2 separate regions of the Homo sapiens genome follow, and region 1 is linked to region 2. The links are contacts of gene promoters, found by promoter capture Hi-C in human tissues and cell types (Jung and others, 2019). All regions are on one chromosome and are shown on one strand. Each heading gives the region's core, a stretch centred on a gene start or on the middle of the fragment in contact. The rest is flanking DNA. Distances are from core to core; before and after follow the strand shown. Region 1 overlaps LOC124900669 (a long non-coding RNA gene). Region 2 holds the start of NKX3-2 (NK3 homeobox 2).

Region 1 (4,142 bases), core at 1,145-3,644, 43 kb before region 2:
CACATCTTTCCCTAGTTACTTGACCCTCCACTACTCCATGGTATATTCATGACAACTATTTAACAATATATACTTAAATAAGAAAAAATATGGCTATAAGGAGAGAAATAAAACATGAATTTAATTTCAGCTCTACTTATTACTAATTTATAGGCCTTGGGTAGGCTTCTTAGCCTCAGTTTTGTTACCCATAAAATAGAAGTAAGAGTAAACACTTCACAAGGGTATTATGAAGATCAAAATACTAGTATTTTAAAGAAATGCAAGGGAGAGGACAGCACAATGCTGTCAATAAAAGCCAAGTTTCTGAAGTTTTTGCAATTCTGCAAACTGTATACAAGCTCTAAGTTCTTCTCAACACTAAACCAAAAACTTTTTCAAACTAAACCTCTGTTGCTGTTTTAAATGAAACTTTTAGAAATGAAAATTATAATCATTGAAATTAAAATCTTAGTGACTGGATTAAGTAGTAGATTTGAAACAGCTCAGTAACTGGAAAATAAATATGATGAAATTACCCAGAATGTACCACAGATGTATCAGGATATTTTTTAAAAATGGGAGAGACATTGAAAAACATGGAGAATAACCTGGGAAGGTGTAACATGTAACTACAGTTGAAGAAAGAGAAGAGAGAAAGGATATGGAAGAGGTAATATGCTGAAATGTAAAGACTAAGGATTTTCTAGAATTAATGAAAGACATTAAATGCACATAAGCAAAACACAATATTCTAAGCAGAATAATAGAAAGTGACACCTGAATTCATTGTATTAACATTCCATAACCTACCAAAATGTGAAAAAAAAGTTTTTAGGTTATATCCTGTATATGCTAGTCACAGATTAAATCCTCTATATGCTAATCATAAATTAATCTATTTTTCTTGTAACCAGGAAAATACAAAATAATAACATATGTCATAATGATACATTTAATTGCAATTTTAAAGCATTTGTTGTTTTTCTTATAGGTGTGTACGTGCATGCACGTGTGTGTATGTGTGTGTGTATGTTTCTCTCTGTATCAGGCCAATTCATTACTTGCTGGAAGTCATACCACAAAGCATTTTTGCCAACTATTTATGTTCTTTCCTTACTTAGGTAAAGTAAATCCCATACTTTCTCAGTAGGGTTAAGGTCAAGACTCTGAGGGGAGCCACTCCTTCCTAATTAGTTCCCCAGACTCCTCTTTTTTTCCCCCTTTAAATGGCCACAACAGTCTAGAAAAATGTTTGGAGTCATAATCCCCCTGATAAATGAATCCCTGATCAAGCAGCTGGTTTCCAGAAGGGACTCCTTGCTGTGCTGCAATTATGTTGAAGCTGAACTCCAGTAGTTCAGGTCATGGCTGAAGTACTGAAGGGAAAAATACCTATCTCAGAGCTCCACTGTATGACACAGTAAGCTACAAGACTCCTGCTTCTCCTCTCCAAAGCCCTCACCCAAAGATCAATATTCTTCTTAGTTAATGAGAAAAATACTTAATGATGTGAATGCACGTGCAGGTCCTTGACTGGTGACCCACGCAGGGGAGATTCATGCCTTCAGAGTGTACTGGCAATTTAAAACCCATCCTAGAAAGCTTGAAAATGATTTTCTATTTATTCGATAATATACTTAATTTTTCAGTTACTAAATAGTTATCTATTAACAGTGGAGCCACATTATTTGAGATTTCGCAGGTAAAAGGTATAAAGGAAAATATTTATAAATACCAAGTTATATATCATACTAAGAGTTAGGAAAAGTCACATCTTAAATATTAGAAATGAAACGGCTCTTTAAAACACACAGAGGAACATATACAGAATTTTTCACCTGAGGACTGCCTGATTGTATAGATTTTCAGATACCTTTCCATAAATCTTACAGACTTATTTTCCCTCCCTGATTCTGCTAGGATAATAAAAATGTCCTGTTCGTGTTCCACGTCAATGGGCTCAGTCCTTCCTCATTTAATACTGTCAATAATGTTAGGTCAAATATGAAGTTGATTTGTGTTTATGCGGAGACGATGTTAACTTCTCTACTTTAAGTATTTCTAACTAAACATACCCTTCCATGAGATCACTATGTGTCCTCCTTTACCTTAATTTCAGAAAAAGAATTCAAATCATTCCAGAAAAAAAAAGAGATGTTTTAGAAGGCAATGAGACTCTTATTGTATGAAAAGAGATGACAATCACCCCTATGCAAAGTTAAAGGATGACAGACTATAGAAGAGGTTTACAACATGTAAAATAGAAAAAGAATCAATAATCAGAATAAAGAATGCCAACTTCACTAGGCTTTCGTAAGGCTGCCACAACAAATTACCACAAATTGAGTGGCTTAAAACAACAGAAATCAATTCTCTTACAGTTCTGGAGGTAGTAAGTCCCAAATCAAGCTGTCGAAGGCTCCAGGGGAAAGCACCCCTTGGCTTGTGGCTACATCATTCCAGTCTCTGTCTCCATCTGCACTTGACCTTCTCCTCCATCTGCCCTATGTTCTTCCTTTGTGTGTCTCTTGGAAGGACACTTGTTGGATTTACAGCCCACCTAGATAATATAGGATGATCTTATCTTGAGATTCTTAACTGAATCACTTCTGCAAAGACGCATTTTCAAATAAGATCACATTATAGGTTCCAGAGGTTAGAACATGAGTATATCTTTGTGGGGTTGGGTCCTAATTCAACACAATACGCCTATCAGATTTTTAGTTAAAAGCTTATAGAAGCTTTTAATTTGAGGCAATCTCCTCTACTATGAACATGTAATATTAAATAGAGAAAGTATAAAAACAATTCAAGATGCAAATCATAGTGAATCAGAAGATTAAAGCAGTAAATATCCGGGCGCGGTGGCTCACGCCTGTAATCCCAGCACTTTGGGAGGCTGAGGTGGGTTGATTGCCTGAGGTCAAGAGTTCAAGACCAGCCTGGCCAGCATAGTGAAACCCTGTCTCTACTAATTTCACAAAAATTAGCCGGGCGTGGTGGTGGGCACCTGTAATCCCAGCTACTCTGGAGGCTGAGGTGGGAGAATTGCTTGAACCCGGGAGATGGAGGTTGCAGTGAGCTGAGATTACGCCACTTCACTCCAGCCTGGGCGACAGAGCAAAACTCAGTCTCAAAAAAAAAAAAAAAAAGCAATAAATAAAACTGAAACTATGGGTGCAAATGACTTCAGGTCTTCTTGAAAAGACAAATGAATTTAACTCAATATTACAGGGACCAATAATAACTATAGAACAGTGCTGTATAAATGTTGGGCATCCTTGTATCATCTCACTGTCGGAGGGAAGGTTTTCAACATTAAAACATTTTCTTTCTAATCCTAATTCTAAATAAATACTAAATGTTATCAAACTTTTTTAGTGAGGATTTTTCCTATTAATGTTGTTTAGTACATTGAGTTAATAATTTCTGAAATAAATTCTATCTATTCATTAAAAAAAATTACAGAGACCTAAAGTGCATTCAACAAAAGTCTGTATTCACTCATGATTTTAAAAAATAATAACTTCTTGAAAATGAAGAATAGAAGGAAACTTCCTTAATCTGATTTTTAAAAATAACTCGCAAAAGCCTCTGTAAACATCACGCTAAATGGGAAAACTTTTGAAGCATTTCTAAATTGGGAATAAATAAGCAAGTTTGCTTGCTATTATCTTCTGTATTCACCACCATATAGGGAAGAAACGTTGCAAAGGAAAAGACAACACTGTCTCTGTGATGATATGATCACCATGATAGAAAAGACAAGCAAATCTCTTAATAAACTCATAGACCTAAAAAGAGTTCATTAAGCTTGCTGGATACAAGATCAACATACAAAAATTAGTGATATTTCTAAACACCAGCTACACCAGCGAAAGCAACCAGAAAGTATAAAGAAAAACGGTATCATTCACAAACACAAAAACTGTAAGGTAATGAGAAACAAAAGATGTTCAAAAACATTGTGGACATAGCTGGGCATGGTGGCACATGCCTGTAGTCCCAGCTACTTGGGAGGCTGAGGCAGGAGGATCATTTGAACCCAAGAGTTAGAGATTGAAGTGAACTGTGATTGCACCACTGCTCTCTAGCCCAAGCAACAGGGCAAGACCTTGTCACAAAAAAAAAAAAAAAAATTTATTATGGTGAAATAGTCC
Region 2 (4,016 bases), core at 1,468-3,967:
TTCAAATTAGAAAAAGGCGCCCCCTCAGGGCAGACTCAGCCCAGCTGCCAGGGGACAAGTCCTGGCTAACGGGAGCTGGAGCTGGGTTTCACCTCCAGGTGCCTCCTTGGCGGGGCGCCCCGTGCAGGCTACAGCCTACAGCTGTCAGCGCCGGTCCGGAGCCGGAGCGCGGGAATCACTCGCTGCCTCAGCCCAAGCGGGTTCACTGGGTGCCTGCGGCAGCTGCGCAGGTGGAGAGCGCCCAGCCTGGGAGGCAGTAGTACGGGTAATAGTAGGAGGGCTGCAGTGGCAGAAGCGAGGGTGGCCGCAGCACTTCGCCGGGCAGGTATTGTCTCTGGTCGTCGCGCACCAGCACCTTTACGGCCACCTTCTTGGCGGCGGGCGCCGAGGCCAGCAGGTCGGCTGCCATCTGCCGGCGCTTTGTCTTGTAGCGACGGTTCTGGAACCAGATTTTCACCTGCGTCTCGGTGAGCTTCAGCGACGCGGCCAGGTCTGCGCGCTCGGGCCCGGACAGGTAGCGCTGGTGGTTAAAGCGGCGCTCCAGCTCGAAGACCTGCGCGTGGGAGAAAGCGGCCCGCGAGCGCTTCTTGCGTGGCTTGGGCGCCGCCGGCTCCTCCTCCTCCTCCGCGACGCCTGCCGGCCCGCTGCCGCCCCCGCCGCCGGCCCCGCTGCACAGCGCGGACACGTGTGCACCTCTGGGGCCAACACCGTCGTCCTCGGTCCTTGGGCTGCGGTCGCCTGCGGACCCCGGTGGGAACAGAAACAAGAGACTGTCAGCGCCACAGACGAGGTGAGGCCGGGCCTCAACTGCAGGGGTCACGGGAGTGGGGCGGAAATACACTTTGATCCCACTCAAGCGGAGCGGAGGTCTGGGAGGCCCTGGGCCCGGGAGACCAGTCTTAGACTCTTGCCCCACTGGGTATCCCATCTAGGCCTCTTCTGGGGAGGGCGGCAGACTCAGCCGCTGTGTCAACGCTGTGTTGTCGAGACCAGCTCCCCACCCTCTCTGGGCCCCAGGCTCCCCTCAGTAACTTGGGGCACTCGACCCGAGCATCCGCGAAAGCCCTCCCGGCTCTCAGCGTTGAGCATTGGGATTCTAGACTGCATTTCCGTCTCTCTGCTTGGGTTCACGCGCCTCTCCACACTTAGTTCACACGCACACACGCGCGCGTCCTCGCAGCACACACTTGTCTGGTGCAGGTAAGGGAAGGTGGAGGCGGATCCTGGGGCCAAAGGTATTTAGAATCTTTCACCCTCAGCCGCCTGGGATTGCTGTGAGAGACATGGAAACAGGCTGAGCCGAGGCCTTAGATGAGAGGATGGACTGGAGAGTAAAGAGGGAGGGTTGCCCCTGCATCGAGTTTTTGGACCCTGATCCCACACCAGCTTCTCGGTCTCGTACCCGCCCTTCCGAAGAACTCCAGCAGAAAGGTCCAGCGGTCCCCTGTGCTTGAGGCCTACAGAAGCTTGTACCCAACTAGGGCAGGCACCCGGGTCTTCCAGACCACAGGACAGGACAGGCCACGGCTGAGGAGGCCTCTCTCCTGCCTCCAGGATGAACTAAAGACCCAATCCGGGATCTTCGGCCTAGGGCTGCTCTCCCAGACCTGGGGTCTGAGAAAGCCAAACCAGCCCTTTCCCCAAAGCTCTAGTTCTGCAGATTCTCAGCTCTGGCCCACTCGGAGGTGTTCTTCACCACCTATCCACCTACTGTGGGGCCCGGCCCTGGGACCTTGAACTGGCAGGTCTCTGGTCCAGAGCTAGGTCACTGGCTACCTGAGGTCTCTGAACCCCTCACTTTTCCGCTTCCCTGATTTTGGGGATTTGGGGACAGACACGGCAGAAAGCACTGGCGACGAACTCAAAAACTCCCGAACGCAAGGGGCAGCGGTTCTCCCAACCCAGTCTAATGCACATTGGCCCAGGATGTCTCAGGCCTCACCCCAGGACGTAGGGCTCTGAGGAGCTACTCCGGTCTCTCGCGGGCTCAGTTCCCGAAGTGATAGAGCAGCTCGCGCCAGAGCGCAGAACTTCGGGATTTGGCCAGCCTCCGAGCCCCAGGGCGCAGGGTGCTCAAGCCGACCACCCCACTCGGCGTGGTTGCCCTCCGCGTCCATCCCCTCAGCCCGGCCCCCATCCCCGCGAAGCCGCAGCAGACCTGAGACGCTGGCGGACATCTCGCTGTCGCTCCGGCCCGCGGCTTCCTCCTCTAGGTCTTTGGAAGCGGCCAGCTCACAGACCGGCTGGCCGAGGCTCAAGGATCCCCCCGCAAGGCCGGCCCCGCTGGCCCCCCGCGCGTCCGCGCAGCGCCGCCTGCTCTCGTTCTCCTCGCTGAGCGCGGAGTCCGAGTCCCAGCCTTCCGGGCTCTCCGCAGTCCGCCCCGCAGCTGTTCTGGTACCGGCAGGAGACGCCAGCAGAGAGTCCTCGGCGCCCCCCAACGCGCCCGCGTCCCTCTCCCCAAAGAGCCGCCAACAGCAGACAGCGGGAGCCGCGGCCACCGATGCCGCTGTGCCCCCGGGCGCCGGGCGCCCCTCTGGCGCGGCCAGCCCGCCGCGCTCCTCTTTCTTGTTGAGGATCGCCTGGATGGAGAAGGACGTCAAGGTGTTGGCGCCGCGCACAGCCATCTGCGCCGCGGGCAGGAGCGGCCGGCGGGGCGGGCAGCTGGGGCGCCGAGCAGCTCCGAGCGGGACAGAGAGCGCCGGCGGCCGCAGCGCGAGTGAGCTGGGTGTGCGAGGCCGCCGCCGCCCACTGCTGCGCGGCCCAGCAGCTCCCGCCCCACTCCGTCCCAGGATCAGCGCCGACCCTCGCCCCCACCTTAGAGGCCCACCCCGCCCGGAGACCCCCTCCCCCCGAATCCAGAGCCAGACGCTCTCCTTTCGCAGCTCAGCTGGATTATCTCATCGCTTCTCGCCCTTAGGGGCGGGCTGGGGTCTGCCCCCTCGGGGGACGTGAAGGAGGATTGGCGGGGGCCCCTCCGTGGCAGCAGTCCCCTCCCGAGCGCCGCCGGGGCGCACAGCCCGAGTCACTTTTTCTTTGCGCGTCTGTCCCTTCCTCGCCTGCAGGATTTCGCTCCTGGCCCGTCCTCCCCTTCCCTGCTGGGCAGGCTCTTCCGGAGCCCACCCCCGGCGGCGGCGGCGGTAGCCGCGGCCGCGGCCGCTGGATTCCGAGAGGCGCGGGGAACTTTTTTACCCCCTGCCCTGGTTTTATCTGTTTCTTTTCTCTTTCCTTCCCTTGCGTTCCACTGTACCACCCCCCTCCCGCCCGGGTGTCATTCCTCACTGCTGAGTGACAGCCTGAGGCCACACCCCTCCACTGGGCTGTCCCGGGCGCTCCCGGCCGTCCATTGGCTGGCTCCAGTTGGGCGACGTTGACTTTAACAGACAAAACTGGGCACGTTGCGCCGCTAAAGACAGGGTCTGACTTAACCCCTTCTCTCCTAAGCCTGGTCCTCGAAGCACCCTCCAGCAACAAGGAGGCTCATCCGACCCAAACCACGTTTCTTACCTCTGCAGATGTATCCACTTATTCCAGCGCTTTAACAGAACACTGATACTAAGTTGAGTCAAATCTGCGGAGAAAATCCAAGATAATGCAGTTCCATAAATCATGCTCGTAGTTTCTGTTCTCTAGGAAGGATTATAAACACGAAGAACAAAATGCATCCTTTTTTTTCTCCCTACAGTTTCGCCGCTTCTTCATTGCTAATGCTCTTTGCTGAAATGATCAGTTAATTAAGATCACTCTAGAAATATTTTTCTTTCCTCGTCGTCTTTGATTTGATTCGATTTTTATAGAGGAATTATAAAAAAATGGTATAGTTAGAACTAAAGTCAGGAGAAGAATTGAAAGGCATCTTTGGGAGAATTTCTGTAAATTTTATGGTCGTTTCCCTGGCAGACCAATATTGAATTTAATTGGAGTTTGTTAAGTTTTGCATCAGGAAGAAAAAAAAAACTTTCAATTTGTTTTTTTTAAATATCTCTTACTTGTGAGTTGAATAAAATTATAAATAGATA

What was found. Contacts are between HindIII fragments. The study calls those that stand out against the background at their distance.
Region 1: a fragment that was not itself captured here is called in contact with the fragment with the promoter of NKX3-2 in region 2 in 1 of the 25 tissues and cell types used here (dorsolateral prefrontal cortex).

The regions. Positions count from the first base shown.
Region 1 is chr4:13,498,996-13,503,137 of GRCh38, forward strand. The region is part of intron 1 of LOC124900669 (a long non-coding RNA gene); the gene reads left to right. Among named protein-coding and RNA genes, the nearest start is that of RAB28, 17 kb to the left of the region's middle. The HindIII fragment of the contact is 4,032 bases long and covers 379-4,142 here.
Region 2 is chr4:13,541,791-13,545,806 of GRCh38, forward strand. NKX3-2 (NK3 homeobox 2) reads right to left here and starts at 2,718. Exons shown (of 2, transcript NM_001189.4): 1 at 2,159-2,718; 2 at 1-738. The coding sequence starts at 2,624. The coding sequence ends at 203. RefSeq lists a silencer at 514-643. The HindIII fragment of the contact is 14,287 bases long and covers 1-4,016 here.